Linked DNA regions of Homo sapiens: regions 2, 3 and 4 are each linked to region 1. Evidence: promoter capture Hi-C in 16 types of primary human blood cells and fetal thymus (Javierre and others, 2016). All regions are on one chromosome and are shown on one strand. Each heading gives the region's core, a stretch centred on a gene start or on the middle of the fragment in contact. The rest is flanking DNA. Distances are from core to core; before and after follow the strand shown.

Region 1 (2,700 bases), core at 3-2,502:
AGGAAGAAAAGACAGACAGCTATTGCATGAAGAACGTGTGTGTTCCTAATTGAAGGAGACGGAAATTTTAGGCGGCAGGGAGAGGAAGGAATGGCACTAAAGCTAGGTACCAAGGCCCACAGGAAAGGTTTTCGGAGCTTGAACTTCTGACTATGCGCTTACACCAAGGACCACAGCGCTTTGAAAGATGTGCAATGCTTTACGCAGGACAGTTGGCTGTTACTTGGAGACCCTTGGGGAAGCTGTCAAAGCCCCCAGGACAAGTCCCTATTCCCCCCCTTCTTCGCTCTGCAAGGAGAGCGGCGTCCTGCACCAAGGAAGGAAAAAAAGTTTCTCTCCGCTCCAGACCCCACTTCACACAGTGGTGTGCAAGTGTGTTCGAGCATGAAGACAACAACGGGCCGGGTCCCGCAAAGAGGCAGAACCGAGTGTACCGTCCGATCCGGGAGACCCGGCCTGAGATTCCGGCAAGGTTTTCTTCCCCGGGCCCGGACTAGGATGTTGCGCGCAGCCAGACAACTTTTCACCGCCTGTTCTCGCCTGCGGAGGCACCTCCTGCCTGCCAACCCCAGGCGCCTTCCCACCCCAGCCTCCCAAGAGCCTGAGGGTGTGTCGGCATCTCAGGACATGCTCCAGCCGAGGTCCCTGTCGCAAACCAGAGTCCTAGAAAAGGAACTGGGCTAGAGCACAGGCGACCACAGACTCGCTGGGTAATCTTGGGCCAGTCTCTGAGCCTCAGTTTCCCCACTGGTAAATGAAAGATCGCAAAATGTCAAGTCCTGTCCAACTCTCCAGCTCTACGATTCCGAGTTAGATCTGGCTTTCAGGTCCTCTCCGCCCTCACCCGACCTGTCTGCCTTCCTCCTCCAGAGTGGGCTCCTTACCCACAGAGGCGGCCCGGGTCTCCACGCAGAGCCACAGGGCGACGGCCAGCAGCACCTTGCTCTGCATCCTGCACCTCGAGCCGGGCGAAATGCCCAGAACTCGGGAGCCGGTTCTTTCTCCCAGCGCCTGTCTAGAGAAGGAGGCGCGGAGGTGGAACTCGCGGCACCCCGCAGCGCAGGACAGTTGAGCGCACAGGGCTAGGGAGCCCGGGCGCCGACCGCGGCTGCAGGGGCGTCTGCGGGTGCCGGTAGGAGAGGATATCCAGGCTGCCAGACGGACTTTCTGCGGCGCGCAAGTGATGCCCGGCGCAGGCAGAGGAAACGCAGCGACCACACATTGACCGCTCTCCCGGGGTCCCGGGACTCAGTGCAGGGTGGGAGCTGGTGCCGAAACTCTAGAGCGCGGAGGCGGGGCCATGCGGGGCGGGGCCGGAGCGGAGGAGGGGCTCTCCCGTGCGGCCAGCCCCGCCCCTCACCCGGGTACCCGGCGGCGATCTCCAGCTCCCCAAGCCCATTTACATCTCCCCATTTCCCCACACAACTGGACTGCGCTGGGCCCCAAGTCGCCCAGGAGAGAACATCCCAGAGCAACAACTTTGTTTCTGGTGTAAATAAAAAGTACTCGGTAACGGGCGCTGAGCAACTCCAAGATTTAATCGCTTGCCGGTCCCCGAAATTTGGGGAGCATCACCAGGAGCGCTGCGAAGAGCAGCGCTCCCTCACCAGGCGCGTCAAAGTGCAGGACCCTCTTCGCCATCGCGCGCGTCTGAAGTGGCCGAGAATCTGCAGCAGTTTGGAGCCACAAGGGAGAAGCGGATACTCAGCCAAGTATGCCGGGTCGCAAGCTGGCAGCGACTCCTGCCAGTAGTTTTGGTTTTTGTATAAGGGTATTTTGTTTGGCCAGTATAATTGTAGTTTAAAAAGCTGAATCTGGTTGCTCTTAATCAGAAAACGCACTTGCCCAGTTCGCCAACATTCCCGCTATTTCCCAAAATATTTGGCGGCTCCAAGTTTGAAGTGACCTGCCTAGCCCCAAGAAGGCTTTTGTCCATCGTGCTCCCCAACGAAGAGCCCTAGTGAAAGTTTGGCCATGCCCCTTTTCAGAGCAGAGCTTCCAGCCAAGATATCCTTAGTCCCAGGGGAAGGAGGCCAGCTGCCAGCGTGCTTCAGTGGAGGAGCAATGAAGCAAAAGCACCTAGGACACTCTGTGACCAAATTGCACAACTGTCTCCACGTGTGTGGACTTCTTGTGGCAGCTGTTTGGAGGGGAACTCCAATTCCTTCCTGACCACATTCGTTCCTTCTGGTTTTCTGTCCATATCTCCCCACACCTGGGGAGTGACATCAAATGTCCCCTAACTTCATTAAATATGAATCTTCCAGATGCCTATGTCTTTTACCTCCCAGAGGTGCTTTTTAATGACAACCTAAAGGACCATTCTTCACCAAGATAAACACACAGAATTATTATATCTACACCTAATTCAAACTAGATTGATTGTATACAATTAATGTAACCTGTTACTTATCTTCATCTGTTTTTAAATATTTACTGTATTCACGCTTTTACTTTTCCAAGTTGACAGGTGAAATATTTTAATGCTGAAATATAATGAATGTATATGGCAAAAAAAAATTTTGGAAAAACACAAAAAGGCTTAGAGTGAAAAGACTTTTCTTTTGGCAGAGGCATTTTTATGTTTCCTTTTTTTTCCAAGCAGATTCTTAAACACAAGTATGTAGACATGTCACCCTTCTCTTCCCACAATTGCTTGGTATAAATGCTATTTGAGCCTTGGCTTTTTTCCCTTTAAAT
Region 2 (2,700 bases), core at 3-2,502, 570 kb before region 1:
GGATATGGGTGGATCCAGAAAGATATGTGTGCAAATCCTGGCTCTGTTTCCATGCGACCTTGGGCAAACCACTTCAATTCTCTGGGTCTCAGTTATATCATCCAGAAAGCAGAGATGAATAAGAACGTTTCTCTCTTACAGGTTTGTTGTGATATTAGAATGAGGCTGTTCAAGTAACACAGTTAGCATGTGGCTGGCAAATAACTGTCACTAGAAAAATGGTAGCTGTTACAATATTTATTGGAAGAGAGGGATTGAGGGCCTTGTACATTCCTCTGCGGTGAGGAATACATTTAAGAGGCATGCTTCACATTCAGTTTGGAGTTGAGAGACCATGTGATGTAATGGGAAATATTGTAGACTGCAAAGTAAGACTCCCTGGATTTGAATCCAGAGAGCTGTGTGACCTTGCCACATGCATCAGCATTTTAGGGTCTCTTTCGCCAGAAGCAGACCCGAAATAACCATTTGAGGGCGGGTAGATCTTTCTGAGGTGATTTCAGGAAATATGCATAGGGAATGGAAAAGTCAGATGGAAAGGGAAGTGGCCAAGAAGCGTATGTTTCTAAGCAAGTTACCAGCGTGGAAGCTGGAGTGTAAGCCCTCCAGGGAAACTGGGGACACAGGTAGAATCATGCCTCTGAATTATCACACTCAAGGGGTGAGGGAGCTGGGGCCATTGTATGCCAACTCCCATCTGTCATTGGTTGAGGGTCACTTCCAGGGGACAGTAATTCCCCAGCAGGTCCTGCCTGCCACACAAGGGCAGAGAAAGCTCTCAGGCAAAGCTATGGTGGCAGCGGGAAGTTGGGCCAGCGTGTGCTGAAGTGGTGAGGGCTGAAGGGATACGGAGAGGAGCCCTCAGTATTGCTATTTTAAAGATGAGAAAATTTAGTTTCACATGGTCCCATATTTTCTCAAAATGGGATAATGATAGTATCTGCTTCGTAGAATTATCAGGAGAGTTGTGTAAGTGAACAACGCCAAGGGCTTCCATCAGAGCTTGTCATAGGGCAAGTAAGCACCATTTAAGTGCTAGTTGTCATCATCTGAAGATTTTTGCTGTTCTGTGATGTAAATTTTGTTCCCACCACCCCCCTCCACAATGTTTAGTTAAGCTGTTCAAACTCGCAAATACATTGGGGCGATGGGGGCTTGTGGAGCTAAAGGTAGGGGCTAACATTAACCACTGGTCCAACCACACAAATTCTCAATGATGGGCTTGCACAACATCTGGAGGCCTGCGGACTTTTGGGGGCATGGATTTGGGAATTGGAACCCTGCTCTTACCTCTCTCTCAAACGGCATGAGGCCACAGATGCTATCTGGGTTGTACATTAAATGGCAAGCCTCTGAAGGTAGAAACGGTGCCCTCCTGGCTGGATTGACTCGGCTTCTTCCCTGGCACATTGTAGACACTCGGTGATTGGCTATTGAGTAGATAAGCATGAAAACAGCTTAGAAAGCCAGAAAAGGAATGTTTCTGCCTAAAATCACGGGTGATTGATATCATCCTTACGTGCAGCCCTCACCTCACAACCTCTTGTTTCCCTGGCCACTTGGCCACCAGGACGCAGGAAGTAACCTGCACCTGACCCCCTGATGTTGGCAATGGGACGAGCTTTCCACTCTCGGCAGCATCTTGTAGAATACAAAGGACTCGCTGTAGTATTTATACCAACACACACATTTTAAATAGGCCCTCACTTCTTCCTGAAAGGAATCCAAAGACTCTGTTGGAACTGAAAACATTCATATTTATGTATCACCAGTTATTGAGGGAACACAAAGTGCTCAGCAAATATGATCTCATTAGTGCTCACGACAGCCCTGAGGGAAGAAGTTGGCAAGAATTCCCACCCTCCTTGGAGAGGTGAGAGTATGGAGGCCCAGAAGGCCAGGGAACACACGCCAGAGCCACTCAGCAGGTGCTCCAGGGAGCTGGGGCAATGGCAAGGAAATGGGAGGCTCAAGAGAAGTGTCACAATGCTGTGGCCTCCACAATCACTGCAGTGTCCAGAGGACAAGCAGAAATCTGGAAATATCCCCCATGTCTGTCATGATGCGATCTGATAGATGCCTGATGGTACTAACAATGAAATGCCATTCAGGTGTTCAAACAGATCCATGTTCTGTGGAGAAAGACATTCTAAGGCATTTAGATAAAAAATGCAAGTTTGCAAGAGTATATATAATATAGTCACTCATTACTATTAAGTAAATGTATAATATGAAGGGGAAAATCTAAAAGAGTGTATACCAAATTATATATGAAATATATATGTCTTTGTGTGTAAGTATTTTCAGAGAAAAGGCCTAGAAGAATGGGTACCAAATTATACTGAAATATACATTTATTTATTTTTATTTTCAAGGAAAGTTCTAGAAGAATGTGTAACGATGATTATCTCAATAGTTGGATTAAATATACTTTTCTTAGTCACACATTTGTTAATTTCCAATGTGCATTTTTTTGGTAATCGGATTAAAACTTTCTAAAAACCAGAAAAAAGGAAATTCATTGTCACCTAGAAAGTATTAAAAATAGAAAATAAAACTATTAAAATATGCTCAGAGTGTTTTTCTTTCATTAAAAGAGAACACTAGGAGTGTTTTCCTTGATGTGAAGAATTTGGAGAAATTCCACCAGACTTTCTATTTAGTTCCTACTACAGAGTGAAATTTGGATCAGATATTCTA
Region 3 (2,700 bases), core at 117-2,616, 790 kb before region 1:
TAGCATAATATTTCAATGTTGTAGCATCCATCAGAACTTTATTCCTTTTTATGGACAAATAATATTCCATTGTATAAATATGGCACATCTTGTTTATCCATTTATCAGATATGAACATTTGGATTGTTTCCTCCTATACTACATTTTGTGTGTCCCCTAGCATCTGAGGTTTTACTACTAAGCTCCTAACAATGAGACCTACTTCCCTTTTCTGAAAACATAGGTGGACTAAGAAACCCTGTTCCCTCTGGAATTCAGACAAATCAAATTATATATGTGTTGAGTGACACTTGAGGTAATGCCAAAGACAGAGGCTTAGAGAGTACCTTGCAGTGGTTTGTAATGATGGTGATCCAGGCAGAACCTGAGAGGTTCAGGGTCTGACATTCCCTCAAAGGTGATCAGGCTCAGGAGGCCTGACTCACATCAAACTCAACTGAAACCCCAACCTAAACCCAAACCACCTTAGAAACCAGGAAGCTAATTTATAATTTTATAATATTTCCAAACAGACCTGGAGGCCAGAGTTGGCTGATTTACATATGACCTTCCTGTAGGGAAGAGTACAGGAGATGTCAGGTTACTATCAGATAATTGCCTTGCAGTGCAGGCATAAGGGACCGGATAACTTTAAAGAATTGACATTTAAGCCATAACAGTTGGACATGCTTCCATATATGCCTGATAAGCTTTCTTCTGGTCATGACACTGCTTCTCAATAGTACTGGATAAACACTGACCACCTCTTGCCATTTTCACCATCTCCTTCTTCTCATTCCAAGTTGAGCACTAGCCTTTTATGTATGCTGAAATTTTAGAACACAATTATTTAGAACAGTAATTTCCAAAAACATTTTGGGGAGTGCTAATCCCATATATATTTATTTATAAATTATATACATGCACTAAAATTTATTTGTATATTAATTTATATGTTCAATGAAAGTTTATTTCTATAAATATTTATTTTTTCCAAAGTCAACTAAAGATGGATATTTCTATAAATAAATAAATAAGTAAATAAATAGTCTTGTTCCCCCCATTTAACGATCTCTGTTTTGGATTTTGTTGTTGTTGCTGTTCTTGCATTAAATCCATCTCAGGTCTACAGTTCTATTTTAACCATCTGATCTTTTGGTTGGGTTTACTTTCATTTGTACCAGCCTTAGAAGCCCATCTTTTAAGGGAGGTTATTTAGAAGAGGGCAGAAGGGCTACCTCATCTGTTTTATATTGATTCCGTTAGTTTCAATTTTAGCTGAGGTGACATTTTTTGTTCATCTCCCGAGATTCCAGAGAGAAGCCCACTGCAGCCTTCTAAGCACTGACTGAAACCTTGCAGGGGAGTTATATTACGGACTTAGGCTTCTCTGAGAAGAGAAATGGTAGGAGATGAGTGTCTGGAGTGGGTGGGGAGAGTTACTTCTAGCCTAGCAGAAATGTGGGTTAATGGCACCAAGATGGTGAAATTGGGGGTAGTAAAAGAACATGAGAATTGGCAAGAATGATGGAGAGCCAATGCTCATTAGCAGTTAGCCTGTTGGAAGTAGGCACTGTGTTCTGCCTTTGAACTACACTCAGTAATGGACTGTGGAGATGCTCAGAGAAATTGAAGTGAAGCTGGATCCCCTAGAGCACAGAACATGATGGTTCCAGAAAATTATCTGGTCATAAATGAGAGACACCAGTAAATTAGAATTTGGGTACTCTAGAGGGAAGAGTTTTGGCTTAAAAAAAGAATGAGTTGGGTTTCCGATGAAAAGGAACCTGCTTCCTGGGAGACCAATGTTGCTAAATGAGAGAATTCTACCCTTGGACGGTTTTTAAAGTTGCAAATTGGAATAACCTGGGAAGCCATAAAAATGCTGGTGCCTGAGTCTCAGTCCTAGACTTTCTGATTTCATCCATTTGAGACGAGGTTTGGCCACTGAGATTAAAACAACCACATACAGAAAACCTCCAGATGATTCTAATGTGCAGCCAAGGTTGGGAACCATTGCACTAGAGGATGGAAGAATGGAGTGGCCTAAGGAAATTAGAGGAGGAAGCTTGGGGAGGAAGTGGAGGGACCTGAACAGCCTAAGTAATCCTAGAAGGCTGAACCTCAGAGCCTTTGTGACTTCATCCGCCTCACTCCCATAGACACTGGAGAAGGGATTCACAAAGAAAAGGAAACAGGAAAAGCCTGGGATTTCTACTGCATGTCAGGAAAGTGACCATGAAACTGAGTCGTGGAGCCTTCTGTTTAGGAGCTGACCTCCGTCTTGGTTGCAACTGCAGGTGTTACTCAATAATTCCCTTGCAAGCCCAGTGCTGGAAGCAGCAAAAGTCCTCCATAATTGGTGTCTCTTATTGGGTCCGTTGCCTTCTCTCCCTTCTCTGCACCAAGCCCCCCACCCCCACCCTAGCCTCTGTGTACAGGGAGCCCTCCAGCCCAACCATGGATTTCTCTTCAATTCTACCATTTTCCAGGCATGAGAAGGAAGGGGAGGGAATGACTTCCTTTGGCCTAGAAATATCTGGGAGAATATGCTATACGGTCCTTGAGCAGACACAAAAGAGAATATTCTGGAGCTGCATTTTCCAAAGTATGTTTCTTAGATGCTGGATCCTCAAGGTGTTCCTCCCTGTGTCCGCGCAAGCTTGGGAAATGCAGCAGGCTTCCGCGCCCTCGTTGAGATTCACACTGCCTGTGAGTAGA
Region 4 (2,700 bases), core at 4-2,503, 610 kb after region 1:
TCAAAATGGCTATTGCTATTTTAGGAGAGCAGACTAAAGTTTTCGAGATAAAATTTGCATTAAGAATCAGTTTCACAGAACCCAGAGCTTGATCAAATGCTGATTACCACAATATTTCTCTATCTGTAACTGGCACTATCTATGAAAAGCAGCAGATTTTCATAACCATTTCCATCACTAATAAAGTGGCGCATTTGCAAAGTTTCTATTAAGATACGTTTATTCTCTCAGAATTTTATAGCCTTGGATTTTAAGAATTTAATGTAAAACCCACATGAAGCTAAATGTTAACAAAACAGTCAATTCTTCCTAACAGAAGAAGCATTTGTGGCTGTATAAGTTTGAAGAATAAAAAGTAATTCAGATAAATGGACTTTCTAAAGGACTCGTTTTGGCATAAAAACAGTTTCAGAAAGATGGTATATAAAGTTATGTCCAGAAACTGTAGAGTTGGTATTTAAATAAATATTAATAGGAAAGTTCTGCTAAGCCACTGCAGGAACATGTATCCTAATGGGTGTGCCCAGCTGGCAGCTTTCCAGTTGTACAGCCTCATATGACTCACTGCGTTGGGGCCTTTGGCCTGGACTACCTGCTCCAAATGCACACAAATACAGAGCTTCTTACTCGGTCTCCCCTGGAACACCTCACCTCACCTTTCAGACTTCCTATTACAGCTGTGGCAATGCTGCCTTAGGTGGACTCCTGCCTGGAAAGAAACAGGTTTTATGGTGGTGCAATGCCCCAGGTGGCATGCTTGCTGATCTTCAAGCTGTACTAGCAGAGACCAGCAGTCTCTATCTGGACAGACAGACCACTTCCCAGCTCCACTTTAAAAATCACAGCCTTTCTGCTTTTGTTCAAAAGTCAAAAAATGACAGATGTTGGCAGGGCTGTGGAGAAAAGGGAACACTTATACTCAATGTGAATATATTGGTGGAATGTAAATTAGTTTAGCCACTGTGGAAAGCAGTTTAGAGATTTCTCAAAGAAGAGTTGAATGACCATTCAACCCAGCAATCCCATTACCAAGTATATACCCAAAGGAAAATAAATCATTCTACCAAAAAGACCCGCACCTGTATATTCATTGCAGCGCTATTCACAATAGCAAGGCCAGGCACAGTGGCTCACACCTGTAATTCCAGTGTTTTTAGAGGTCAAGGCAGAAGGATCCCTTGAGGCCACGAGTTCAAGAACAGTCTGGGAAACATAGTGAAACCCTTTCTTTACAAAAAATAACTTAAATAAAATTAACTGGGCATGGTGGCATGTGCATGTAGTCCCAGCTACTTAAGAAGCCGAGGCAGGAGTATTGCTTGCGCCCAGGAGCTTGAGGTGCAGCAAGCTATGATCACACCACAGAACTCCAGCCTGGGTAACAGAGCAAGACCCGGTCAGTCACTCTTTTTAGATCATACTCTTTTTGAAAAACAAAAAAACAACAAATATAGAGACAATAGCAAAGACATGGAATCAACCTTAATGCCCATCATTGGTGGATTTACTAAAGGAAATGTGGCACATATACACCATGGAAAATTATGCAGCCATAAAAAAGAATGAAATTTTATAATTTGCAGCAACATAGATGCAACTGGAGGCCATTATCCTAAATGAACTAACACAGAAATGGAAAACCAAATACCATGTGTTCTCACATATAAGTGGGAGCTAAACATTGGGTATATATGAACATAAAGATAGGAACAATAGATACTGGGGACAACAAGAGTGGGGAGGGAGGAAGGGGGGCAATGGTTGAAAAACTACCTATTGGATACTCTGCTCACCACCTAGGTAACACATTCAACCATACTCCAAACCTCAGCATCATGCCATACACCTTTGCAACAAACCTACACATATACCCTCTGAATCTAAAATAAAAGCTGGAAAAAAATCACAGCCTTTCTGAACATGTGCAGGTGGCAAAGAGATACTATGCACAGTGCAGCTGAACAGCTCTTTTCTGAAGCATCAGGCCCGGTGATTTGGAGGCAGGGTAACATTTGGGGGTTGGGGAATGGCTAACCCAGCAGCAGGAAGGGGGATTTTGTTAGGTCAAGGGGAGTGGTGGACATACCCAGTTGTCAGGGATAGCCATTCAAGAAGGTGGGCAGGCAACTAGCCCCAAAGAGGTACAAAAAAACACATCAGGTGGTTATCCCAGCAGTGCATGGGCCGACAGGGAACTGAAAGTAACAAGATGGTAGAGATCCAGCCAGTGGTCAGCATCAGGAAGATTTGGAAGCAGATTACCAAGGTAGGCGTAAAGTTGAGGGGAACGCAGCAGCATCCCTGTTACTGGCACTGGGGTACAATTTTGAGTTAGAGCACAGGAATAAGGTAAGGAAGGGAAAGGAAAAGGTACTGAAATTGATAGGCAGCCTACTAACCTAGGTGCTTTAAGCATATGATCTTATTTAATTCCCACAACAACCATGCAAAGTAGGAATTAGCCTTATTATATAGGAGAGAAAAGTGAAGTTCAAAGAGAAATGAATTTTGCCAAAATAACACACTTAAGAAGGGGGGCAGTCAGAATTTGAACTTAGGACCAGCTGACTCCAAAGATACCATTGCTGTATTCCCATTGTCATTTGTCCTCATTATTTTTTAGTGCCAAATCTTTGAGAACACAGCCCCCAATGCATATTTCCCATTGTGTCATTTATGTTTTCCCCTTTAAATTACATT

Evidence for each region. The method cuts DNA at HindIII sites, captures the fragments that hold promoters and counts their contacts. A CHiCAGO score of 5 or more calls a contact.
Region 2: a fragment that was not itself captured here is called in contact with the fragment with the promoter of KDR in region 1 in 1 of 17 cell types (neutrophils); the score reaches 7.9 in neutrophils.
Region 3: a fragment that was not itself captured here is called in contact with the fragment with the promoter of KDR in region 1 in 1 of 17 cell types (neutrophils); the score reaches 5.6 in neutrophils.
Region 4: a contact is called between a fragment that was not itself captured here and the fragment with the promoter of KDR in region 1, in 1 of 17 cell types (M2 macrophages). The highest score is 5.3, in M2 macrophages.

Annotation. Positions count from the first base shown.
Region 1 is chr4:55,124,343-55,127,042 of GRCh38, forward strand. It overlaps KDR (kinase insert domain receptor), which reads right to left and starts at 1,253. Exons shown (of 30, transcript NM_002253.4): 1 at 885-1,253. The coding sequence starts at 951. The HindIII fragment of the contact is 11,417 bases long and covers 1-2,700 here.
Region 2 is chr4:54,552,906-54,555,605 of GRCh38, forward strand. No RefSeq gene overlaps it. Among named protein-coding and RNA genes, the nearest start is that of LINC02260, 53 kb to the right of the region's middle. The HindIII fragment of the contact is 9,142 bases long and covers 1-2,700 here.
Region 3 is chr4:54,329,832-54,332,531 of GRCh38, forward strand. No RefSeq gene overlaps it. Among named protein-coding and RNA genes, the nearest start is that of LINC02283, 1.7 kb to the right of the region's middle. The HindIII fragment of the contact is 1,358 bases long and covers 688-2,045 here.
Region 4 is chr4:55,733,474-55,736,173 of GRCh38, forward strand. No RefSeq gene overlaps it. Among named protein-coding and RNA genes, the nearest start is that of EXOC1L, 85 kb to the right of the region's middle. RefSeq lists a cis regulatory region at 389-754. The HindIII fragment of the contact is 3,160 bases long and covers 1-2,700 here.